Regions from separate parts of the Homo sapiens genome. Here region 2 is linked to region 1. Evidence: promoter capture Hi-C in human tissues and cell types (Jung and others, 2019). All regions are on one chromosome and are shown on one strand. The core of a region is centred on a gene start or on the middle of the fragment in contact, and the rest is flanking DNA. Distances in the headings are between cores, read along the strand shown. Region 1 holds the start of MFSD6 (major facilitator superfamily domain containing 6). Region 2 overlaps NAB1 (NGFI-A binding protein 1).

The links. The method cuts DNA at HindIII sites, captures the fragments that hold promoters and counts their contacts. A contact is called where the count stands out against the background at its distance.
Region 2: a contact is called between a fragment that was not itself captured here and the fragment with the promoter of MFSD6 in region 1, in 3 of the 25 tissues and cell types used here (hippocampus, lymphoblastoid cells and pancreas).

What each region holds. Positions count from the first base shown.
Region 1 is chr2:190,406,241-190,412,189 of GRCh38, reverse strand. MFSD6 (major facilitator superfamily domain containing 6) reads right to left here and starts at 3,835. Exons shown (of 8, transcript NM_017694.4): 1 at 3,687-3,835. RefSeq lists a silencer at 3,215-4,254 and an enhancer at 4,515-4,564. The HindIII fragment of the contact is 11,189 bases long and covers 130-5,949 here.
Region 2 is chr2:190,662,613-190,668,794 of GRCh38, reverse strand. The region is part of intron 4 of NAB1 (NGFI-A binding protein 1); the gene reads right to left. Among named protein-coding and RNA genes, the nearest start is that of NAB1, 17 kb to the right of the region's middle. The HindIII fragment of the contact is 9,138 bases long and covers 1-6,182 here.

The DNA.
Region 1 (5,949 bases), core at 2,586-5,085:
GAAATGTATTAATTTTTAAGGATTCTAAGCAGTGGTTTTAGTTAATTTTACATAGAATTGGATAGAACTATGGGACTGTATTTAACAAGTACATATGCATCAGATTAGTTTAACTTTATGATAACTTGCTTCTCCTAAATTGTTACTAAAAATAATTATACCTAAAGTCATCCAGAATGCCATAATTTCATGAGATGACACAGCAGGTAAATTGGTTTCTCCAACTCCTACCTTCTACCAGATTGTTCTGTACAGAACAATCATGCTTCCAAAGACAGCCACCACTAGCAAGACCAGGAAGAAAGAAATTCTTATCACCCCTAATCAAGCAGATAAATTGTGTATGCTCCAAAGCATTCTTATTGAGGAGGAAAACTGAGGAGTTGTAGAATATGCTACAGTTACTATTAGAAAAAGTAAAAGCCAGTCACCTGAGACTCTTTACCCTTTGCCCCCCAATTCTCAGTATGCCACCTTTCACTTTGATCTCCTGAGTCTCATTTCACTTCCCTAACATTAGAGTTTAGGCACATTCAATTTTATCTTACTTTGGATTGTTATAAAATCAATTAATTCTAGTCTTCTTTTGTTTTCCTTTTTAGTTTATATAATAAGAGAACACATGCTTGTTCCAAAAACAAAATTTTAAGCCCAAACATAACTTTATAAGGTAAAAAGCAAAAACATCCTCTTTTCTCCATCTTGTCTCACTTCCTGAAGATAGCCACTGTCGGCTGGGCGCAGTGGCTCATGCCTGTAATCCCAGCACTTTGGGAGGCCTAGGCAGGGGAATCATGAGGTCAGGAGATGGAGACCATCCTGGCCAACATGATGAAACCCCGTCTCTACTAAAAAAATAAAAATTAGCTGAGCCTGGTGGCATGTGCCTGTAATCCCAGCTACTCGGGAGGCTGAGGCAGGAGAATAGTTTGAACCCAGGAGGCAGAGGTTGCAGTAGGCCGAGATCGAGCCACTGCACTCCAGCCTGGTGACAGAGCGAGACTCTGTCTGAAAAAAAAAAAAAAAAACTACTGTCAACAGTTTGGGGACAAAAAGGCGTATGTGTGCCTGTATGCAGGTTTAAACAAATGTATATAAATTTCTTCTGAAGCTAGTTTTTTTTTTTCTTTTTTTTGAGATAGAGTCTCGCTCTGTTGCCCAGGCTGGAGTGCAGTGGCGCGATCTCGGCTCACTGCAACCTCCACCTCCCGGATTCAAGCAATTCTCTACCTCAGCCCCCTGAGTAGCTGGGATTCCAGGCGCCCGCCACCACGCTCAGCTAATTTTTGTATTTTTATTACAGGTGGGATTTCACCATCTTGGCCAGGCTGGTCTTGAACTCCTGACTTCGTGATCCACCTGCCTCGGCCTCCCAAAGTGCTGGGATTACAGGCATGAGCCACCTTGCCCAGCCATTTTTTTCATTTAATATACAGCATCTTGATTTTTCAGCCAATGTGCAAAATAGCTAGCAGACACACATTTTTTGCATTTCTTCCTTTCCCTATAATGAGATTGCCAAATTAAGATTTGCTGTCAAAGGAAGTAAAACAAAGAAACCTGTCAGCTTCATACTGCCTTCAATCTACAACTGGTGAGGACAAAAGGGTAAACATACACACATTAATATACATACGTAATAAATATATAAATTATCCTACATGGCTAAATGTTAACATAAGTAATACATGTACATTGAAATCAAGTTAATTTTCAAAGGCACGAAGCTAAGGAAGACATCTGCGTAGGTGGAGAGACTTAATAGGTTCTGATTAGGGAGGGACACCATGTGGAAATTTCCTGGGCTTTGGAGCCAGAAACATGAGGTCAAATTTAACTCTACCTCTTACTGATTATGTGGTTTGTGTAAGTTGCTTAACCCTTCTGAGCTTCCTTTTTGTCATGCACAGAACTAGGGGAAAGATTTATCTTACAGAGATTGAGATACTAAATGTTTACAATGGTGTCTTGAACATAATAAGTACCCAAAAAAATGCCTTAATACTGTTAATAGTCCAGACACTATATATGATGGAATTGGTGATCCAATACTCACACCACCAAATACCTGTGAACTCTGCTTTTTGTCTTTGTGTTTTATTTGCCTTCACGCTTTTATATTTATTTGTATAGAGATGGAAAGTGCCTTAGAAATAAACTGCTGTAAACATGAAGGACACACAACTACTTAGTAGCTTTAATGCATTATTGAAGTGATGTTCTCTCCTCCTGTTTCCCCAGAGCATCCTGCACTGGGCTCATTAACAATGTCCCATCCTTCCCCTAAGCAATCCTAAATTTTACTTACACCTCGTGATAAATACAAGCCATCTGACTATCACTAAACAGCTGACCATATCCTGCACCTCTGCTAGCAGCTTGACGTGTCAAAAGCCAAGCTTCCCAAAGAGGAGGATCCTATCCTTTTACTTAACAAGGCTAAAACAGATGCATACACTTTTAGCTGGCTAGTGCCCACATCTTGGGGAAAGGACCTACCAAGTACACATCTCCTTTTATTACATATTTTAGTCAACTGTATGTCCACCCACCCTTCACATTCATCTATACTTAAGAGGTTAGATTTCTAGAAAATCATGGACTTCTAGAAGGATTAGGGGAAATTTTGGCCACTATAATATCCAACCATCCTCTTTTCCATGTGAGAAAACTGGGGCTCAGGAAGATGTGACATGCCCAAGCACACACATCTATTTAAATACCAGTTGGGATTAGAACCCCAACTCTTTAAGTCTTTTGCACACTAATAAGCAAGGTATTATATGTTCCAGTAGTTCTGTGAGGTGCTTATTCAATCTTTTTGGGATGAAAAGAAACGTCCGTGGTTGCGAATGCATAAAGGTAATTAACCCACCTGTCTGTCCATGTGGGGATGGGATTAACGAGGGGGAAAGTTGCGTTTGTATTTTTCCACCATCTTACCTAAATTTGCAGGAAAATTGCTCTATGGGCAATAAATATGACCCAGAAAGACTAGCAACCCCCAGTAGTATCTCAAAAGGGCTCCAGAGACATGTTAGACCAAGTGGAAGTAAAGCACGAGGTGGGGGATGTCTGCTAGGATGGTGGCTGGCAGAGCAGAGGTATTTTTTTTTCCGTATTTATTAACCTGGGAGGGCAGACGTTGTCAATTTCCTCCTCCTGCCACACAAGTGGCCGCGTCCTTGTCACTGGGGCTGTGTGGAGGTTCTCACCTCCTCCTTTTTCCCAGGGATGTTTATGGCGAGGGCGCGGGTCGGCCCGGGCGGAGGAGGACCCGGGCATCGGCGCTCACCCTCCGTCCCCACCCGCGGCAGCAGCTGTGGGCGCCCGGCGAGGGCTCCCTGGGCAGCGCCTTTGTTTTCCCGACTCCAGTTACGTTTGCGGAAGTGCTGCCAGCACGGGGCGCGCTGGGGGCGCAGGCGGCAGCCTCCCCCAGCACCCCACAAAGATGACACCCGACACGGAAGCCGGGGGAGGGAGGGAGGGAGGGAGCGGCGGGCGAGCGAGGCCCGAGCGGAGACAGCGGCGCACGCTGGGCTCCGAGCCCCGGCCCCGAAGCCCCTTTCCCGGCAGCAGGTGTGCGCGGCTGAGGTGCCTACCCGCCCTCCGGCTGGGCCCGTGCGGGGCGGGGGAGGCCAGGGCGGGTCTGCGAGCCCCTTCTCCGCAAGCCGGGCCCGACTCACCTGCTGCGGCGGCGGCAGCGCTCAGCTGCGCGGGGCGCGGGGAGCCCTGTCCCCGGAGCACGGGGCGGCGGCTCGGGGCGCCGGGGCGGCGGCTGTCGGGGCAGCGCGCACCATCCCGGGCTGCTCGCGCGCTCCTCCGGGGCTGCGACGGGCTGGGCGGGGCGCGGCGAGGCGAGGCGAGGGATGCGGACCGGGTGGGGCCACGGAGGACGGAGGCGGAGGGCCCAGCGCTCCCGCCGGCGCGACCTTCTCTCCCGCTGCGGCTCCTCCTCCTCCCCGGCCCCGGCCTCACAGTCGCCGCCGCCGGTCACTACCGGCTGGACCCGTTTCAGGGCCGGGCGCTGAGGACCGGCCGCCAGGTGCAGCGCTCCGCCTCCTGCGGCGGCGGCGGATGCGTCGACTGCCCGCTCCCGGCCTCCAGCCCGCCCCGGCGGCCCGGAGGGACACCTGAACCCAGCCGGGCCCGGGGAGCACGCTGAGGAGGCGAAAGCACTGGGCGAGGCTCCATCCCTACCGCACCCTCCACCCCCCCGCACCCCCAAGCGACTTCCGCTGAGCCCCCAGGCAATGAGTGCGGGCCAGGAAATGTGGGGGAAAATGTACTAACATCCCTTATTCCTTGAGCGCCTTTTAAGTGGCACACACAATGCTAATGCTGTCAGTGCGTTATCTCCGCGTCTGTCCCAGGTTGACCCGGGAGGGAGGAGCCGGCGGGGTGCGGGAGACAAACGATCTGTGAGTTTCGGGGCTCACCAAGAAGGGGGAACACTGAGACGAAGGCACCCTTTTTCAGGAAGCTGCTACTGGCATCTTGCTGAAAAGCCAACCGTGTGTGTCGCACTAAGAATATAATTAAAGTTGTATTTCTAGTTAAACACGCAGAGAGTTGGGGGAGAGTGGAGTATTCACTTGGCAAGTATGTCTGTGTGCCTGTGATGGGCTTTGGGGGATGCCACATCCTGTTCTTAAGGAGTTTATTGTCTTGTTCTGGCAACAACGACAAGAGTGACAATGGTAGCTAACGGCAACAACGACAAGAGTGACAATGGTAGCTAACGCTTATAAACATCGATTATGTACGGGGCACTGTGTAGGTACTCTTTGAGCCTTATAACCCTATAGGTGTAGGAAACGTTATTCCCATTTTACAACTGAGGAAAGCCGAGGCTGAAAGTTAATGTGACCCATCCAAAGTTACTAAACAGCGAAAGGGAAAGCAGGCTTCTTTTGTCTCCAGGCTTTAAGCTCTTAACCGTGAAATCATACTGGTAAGAATTTGATAGGCCCTGAAGTTTCTGAATTTTGAGTCCCTCTTTAGGAAGAATAAAACAATTACAAATACGAAGTTTCTAGGGCCCCTTCCTGAGCTTATGAAGGGTCTCTGAAGCTTAAACTATAGTAGCCTCATGCTAAATCCACTTTCAATATTGACGTAGATATTCAATCATTTCTTTCTCCAGGCATTTCTTTCTCCTGTCAGGAACACGAGACACTGGTCCCCTCCTTGAAACTCTTCCCTTCTCTTCTTTTGGTGCTCCGTAAGTGTTGGATTTTCCTCCTTGAAACTCTCCCCTCCTCTGCCTTCTGTGACCCACAAGTCTTGGGTTTTCCTCTTCCTCTCTGGCCACTCCCCTTTGCTCCACTTGAGTTTTAGTTTTCCTTGGGTTTTGTTCTAGGCTTTCCTTTCTTCTGATTCTGTTTGTTTCTGCGAATTCTCTCACTCCTTGGCTTCAATCACAGAATATTTGAGGGTGCTCCAAAAGCCCTCTCTCGGGGTCAGCTTTTCTCCTGAGGGCCAGATCCTTATGGCCAGTTGTCCAGTGGGATGTGTCACAGGCACCCCAACCTCACTAAGTGCCACGTCAATGTTTCTTTACCTTCTGTTCTTCCCCTACTCGTTTTTTTTTTTTAAGATGGAGTCTCACTCTGTCGCCCAGGCCGGATTGCAGTGGCGTGATCTCAGCTCACTGCAACCTCTGCCTCCCGGGTTCAAGTGATTCTCCTACCTCAGCCTCCTGAATAGCTGGGATTACAGGCATGTGCCACCATGTCTGGCTAATTTTTGTATTTTTAGTAGAGATGGGGTCTCACCGTGTTGGCCAAGCTGGTCTCAAACTCCTGACCTCAAATGATCCCCCCACTTCAGCCTCCCAAAGTACTGGGATTACAGGTGTGAGCCACTGCACCCGGCCCCTCATTCACTCTTGCTTCTGGGTTCCCAGACTCTGGGGTCCCAAACAGCCATCCACCCAGTTGTACAAGG
Region 2 (6,182 bases), core at 1,698-4,197, 260 kb before region 1:
GATAAGAGGGGACTACTGTAGTCACCCTTTCTCCCTACCCAGGCATCTCATCTTTATTTAGAATAATTTTTCTTACTTAAAATTTTTGAAAACAAAAATAAATAGCATGCAATCATTCCATCCAGAATGACAATATTCTAATATACATTATTCCAATATTTCAGTGTACATATAAACATTAAGTATATATGTACATACAAATTTGTAATCTACTTTTTTCAGTTACATATGCTATATTTTTCATTTCTACCGATGTATTAAGGCAGAGACGTGGCTTGTTTACATTAGCATCTGGCATGGGCTGGAAGTTCAATATATATCTGTTGACTGACGAATGAATTGAAAAATCCTTTATAATATCACTTTTACTACCCACACATACAATATTCCATTGTAGAAAACAACCATATATTATTTAAACTACCTTCACTCTGGACATCAAACTACCTCCAGTTTTCCATAGACTATTTAAAAAAAAGCTGCATAAGAGATTCTTAAATGTGTACCTTTGCACACATATCCAATTATTTCTTTGCAATAAATTCCTACAAATAGACCAGTTAGGTCACAGGGTATACTAAAATTTTAAGAAATTTATACATTCCACCTAACTACCCTCAGAAAAGTTTCTCTAAATCATAATGCTGTCAATAATTACATGATGAGTCCATTTCCTACAATCTTGACCAACACTAGTTATTATCTTTTTAAAACTTTACCAATTTTATATTTCTAAAACAGCATTTGGTTGTAATTTGCATCCCTTTGACTATGAAACTAAAGGTTTTTCTTACATCTTTGACTCATTACAATGTTTCATGTTCTTAGAACTTCAGGAATTCTTTATTAACAGCATTAACTCTTCATCATATGTAATGGGATTTTTTTTTAAGTTTGTCATTAGCCATACAGTTTCTATGCCTTGGGTGACAGGCAAAGAAAATCTCTTCCTACTCTAATAATATATAAATGTTCCATAATTTAGTCTAATCGTTTTACTTTTCCCACCTAAGTATTTAAACCATCTAGAATGTGTTATGGTACATGGTATGATATAGATATTTAACATCCTCCTCCCCAAATTTATAACTGTAATTTATATTAATTTGTTCTGAGACAATTAATTTGGCCACTGACAGCAAGTTATAATAATAAACCCAGGTCTCCTATTTTAAACCCATAGCTGAATATGAAAGCATAATTGAAGGAAGAATTTATTTTCAGCCTTCTCCACTCCTCCTAAAGAGTCATCAATAGATAAATTCCTCCCCTAAGTGCCTTTGAAAGGCACAATGTTATTGGAGTTAAAAGTGAAATGTATACTTTAAATAATGATATTCAAAATAAATCAGTTTCAGCATGGCAGTAGCTAAATGACCTTGAAGAGGATTCTCAAATAGCTTTTTATGTAGCGATTTATTTTTCATATTAATAAATCTAAATTACTAAGGAAACCTCTGATTTTCAGTAAGATGTTTTAACTGACAACATTTCAGAGGTACTAGCTTATGCACAAACACAGAAAATAACTTTTCAACATAAACTGAAAACAATATTCTAGTATTCCTTCTCTTACCTTTCCAGAAACCAAGAAAAATAAACATAATGCATTCATTGTCACTGAATTCAGGCTCCCACAAACCAAAAAAGTAGACTAAACTCCAGGCCCTCAGGGAACCTGGTAAAAAACTGAGGCTGGAGAAGTAACTCTAGCTCACCCCCAAGTTGTAATAAAAAGCTGATTCATGAAGCCTCTCCCTTAAAAACACGTGTTCTGTCAGAGTTACCTAGATTTCATGCTCCCTAGCTGCTAATAATGAACACATCAATAACTATCATGATATAATTACAAAAGAAAAATGAAAATATTCCCAAGCAGTTGGGAAAATATGAAAATATTCCCGTCACTTGCAGCAGCACTGTTAGCTTTTTCTGAATGCCAATACTCTAATTTTGTTAAAAGGATAAAGTAACAAGATATTCTCCCTTACTGGTTTACTTATTTCCTCCATTTCCTCTTTTTGTGGCCCAAAATACCAAAATTCCACCATATCTTTATGTGAAAGATTTCTTAAAGTTCGCTTCCTTTTTCTTTTTTTTTTGAGATGGAGTCTCACTCTGTCTCCCAGGCTGGAATGCAGTGGCGCAACCTCAGCGCCCCGGGTTCAAGCGATTCTCCTGTCTCAGCCTCCCAAGTTACTGGGACTACAGGCATGTGCCACCATGCCCAGCCAATTTTTTTGTATTTTTAGTACAGACGGGGTTTCATCATGTTGGCCAGGCTGGTCTCGAACTCCTGACCTCAAGCAATCCACCCACCTTGGCCTCCCAAAGTGCTGGGATTACAGGCGTGAGCCACCATGCCCGGCCTCTTAAAGTTAGCTATCTTTTATAACCGGACTTAAAAACTGGACTTACTACAGTTATCTTTATCCTTAAGAAGAGTGGTTTACTGATTCCTAAAAAAACTTTCTTTACAGGTTGTTAAAATTATAATCTCCAACAATTAAATGATTGTGACTTTAAGTACTGTTGGCACAAAAACACTGTGAACAACTGTGTGATAGGGAGGCTCAAAAGGCAATCAGGACTTTCATTTCCAGCACTGGGAGGGCTAGGTACCATTACTGGCCCCTCTCAGAAAAAAAAAACTAAAAATGTTAAATAAAATAGGGAGGGGATCATCTTTTAAATGCTCAATGAGCTGATGAGAATAAGGACATTGAGGCCAAAATTAATGAGTACAGTACCTCAAAGAAGTTTAAGTTAGGGACAGTCGCTAAACTTGATGAGCTTGAGTTTCAATCTTCATGGCCTCATGGGGTTGAGGAGAATGGGAAGGAAAAAAGAGGCAAAGCCCACAGCCCATCAGAATTGAAGAGTCTAAGATGCCTCCTCCATAAAGCTGAAACCTCACCACACACACCCAATGTAAGGCTGAATTAGAAATACGTCTGTACCCCCAGGAGAATGCAAAGAAAATTATCTGTCTTGAACCCTAGTAATGACTGGGAGAGAACAGAAGATACTCTCTTAAGATTTCATAACCCCCAATCAACCATAATTCACACTAAGTGGGCTGAGAATTTATTTTCATAGGGTCTTAGATTTGTAATGTCCCCAGATGCCCAGTAAAAAGAAAAAGCAAATAACCTCTAGGGAATTCACTTTCTTCCCGGGACTCCAAATGTTCTCACAGTTAAAGTTCCAAGAAATATGAATTCACATAAATCATAAAACATCAAAAGAAACAAGGCAACAAAAGTGAACACTAGTAGAAACAACAGACAGCAAAATCAGACCCTCAAAGACTTCATTTGAAGAAACAAAGGGATTTGAAAATACGACTAAAAAGCAGTACAGTAAAAATAACCACGAAACTTGAGAATCAGGAGAGGAGAATTGGACAGAAACAAGATTTTAAAAGTACACAATAAATAGCAGAATAACCACTAACTTTTTTTTTTTTTTTGAGATGGAGTCTTGCTCTGTCGCCCAGGCTGGAGTGCAGTGGCATGATCTTGGCTCACTGCAAGCTCCGCCTCCCAGGTTCACGCCATTCTCCTGCCTCAGCCTCCCGAGTAGCTAGGACTACAGGTGCCCGCCACCACGCCCCGCTAATTTACACAAAGGTATCTTTAATTACTAAGGGAAAACCACTAACATTATAGAATTTAATACCCCAAATAAATAGTAATTAAAAATGAGGGCAAAATAAAGATATTTTCCAGTAGGTAGGGAAGGACAGAGTTTGCCACCAGTAGGCCTTCATTAAGAAAATCCTAAAAGAGCTTTCGATAGAAGGAAGCTAATCCCAGATGATAAATCTGTACAGAAAGTATATCAGGGCTAGAGGGGAGATACAAATAAAATAATGGAAAAAAATCCAAAATATTAGTCATATAATAAATGTACATGGACCAAATATTCCAGTTAAAAAACAAAGCATGTCTGACTGGGTTCTTTAAAATCCAACTGATCAGTATTTATAAAAGATATATATAAAACATGGATTCAGAAAGGCTGAAAATAAAAGGATGATATAAAGATATAATAAGGAATAGACCAGGTGTGGTGGCTCACGTCTGTAATCCCAACACTTGGGGAGGCTGAAGCAGATAGATCGCTTGAGCCCAGGAGTTTGAGACCAGCCTGGGCAACGTGGAAACCCTGTCCCTACAAAAAAAAAAAAAAAAAAAAAAAAAAAAGGAAAGAAGAAAGAAAGAGAGGAAGAAAGGAAGGAAGGAAGGAAGGAAGGAAGGAAGGAAAAAAGAAAAGAAAGAAATTAGCTAGGTGTGGTGGCACATGCCTGTGGTCCCAGCTACCCAGGAGGCTGAGTGGGAGAATCACCTAAGCCTGGGAGGTCGAGGATACAGTAAGCTGTGATCTCACCACTGCATTCCAGCTAGGGTGACAAAGTGAACCCTGTCTCCAAAAAAAAAAAAGATATAAAGATGTAATAGGCAATGACTAACAAAAAGAGAGCTCATGTATTTATATCAACATTAAAGAAAATAGCTTTCTAAAGCAAAATACATTATTAAAGGTTAATAAGATTACTGCGTAATACAAAGAGAAACAGACAACACTACAATCAGTAAAATTTTAGTACACAACTCTTTTTACTGACAGAGCAAGCAGACAAAATAATAGTTAAGAATATAAGATTTGAATGACAGAATTAATAAGCTTGTTAGAACAGACACATATAGAACACTCTACTAACAACTGCTTAAGATATCGTTTCCAAACGTAAAAAACACAGACCACAAAATGAATCATAACTAAACTCTCAACAAATTTTAAAGGGTTGGCATCACACAAACCATGTTCTCTTGCCCTCAATGTAATTAAGTCAGAAATCATTAGGAAAAATAAGGAAAAAAAATTACTCATATTTGGAAATAAAGAAACACTTTTAAATAACACATGGTCAGAAATCATAAAAATAATTAAAATTGAAAAATAATAAAATAACCTCATAACAAAACTTTGGGAATAACACTGAATCAATACATAGTGAAAATTTATACTTTAATTGCTCATATTAGAAAAAGAATGACTAAAAATTAATGAACTAAGCACCCAAATTAAGTTAGATAAGAACAATAAAATAACTAAGAGAGGAGACAAATATATACACGTGTACAGCACAAGCAAGAATAGCAACTAAGCCCAGAGTGGCTTCTTCAAAAAGATCAGAGGTTGGCAAGCTTTTTCTGTAAAAGGCCAGAGAGTAAATATTTTAGGCTTTACGGGCCAAACAGCCTGTGTCACAACTACTTAACTCACCATTGTAGCTCAAAATCAGCCACAAACAGTACATAAATAAATAGGCCCAGCTGTGTGCCAATAAAAATTTATTTATAAAAACAGGAGGTGAGTGAGACTGGGCACACAGACCCTAGTTTGCAGATCTCTAAAAAAGAATAAAATTGGCAAACCTTTGGCAAGGTTGGTCAGGAGCTAAGGAGAGATAAGTGTACAATCAATATTAGGTCAATATTAGGTCTTAAAAAACTATAAATAACTTTACGCCACTAAGTTTGAAAACTCAGATGAAATGGATATTCTTAGAAAAATGTAACTTACCAAAATTGACTCAAGAAATAGACTACCATAATTCATTTTTAAAAATCATCAGAAGGAAAAGTCCAGCATTTCAAGTGTTAGATGCTGAAATCTATGAATTCTGAGATTGAGAGTTCAGAATAAAACAAGCTAACTTAATAATGTGACCACGTTTATGCGGTTCTCAGATTCAGCATTCCTCCTCTCTCAAAGGTGAAATTGCTGGCCTCCTCTGAAACACTCAGCCTTGACTTCTCAGCACTATAATGGAAACTGACCTAAGCTTGGCATCACTGTTTATTCTATAGGCCTGGGTCCTTATCTTGGTAACCTGCTCAGCACCCCAATTCCTGCAGAGTTTCTTCTGCTCAGCTTACAGTTACCCGCTGACTACATTCTCCTCTTCTCCTTCCTATCTTTCTAGAGCTCTTTGACTGGAAGCTGCTATCTGCTGACAAATATTCTGTAATGCCAAATTATCTACCTGCTTACATTTCTGAGTATTACAAGTTTCTACATTCTCTATTGCCTTGCTGTTCCCAAGTTTTAGTTGCTCTCTCCTCATCCATTCACTGATTTAACATTAGGGGTACACTGCTTGCCTAGTTTAC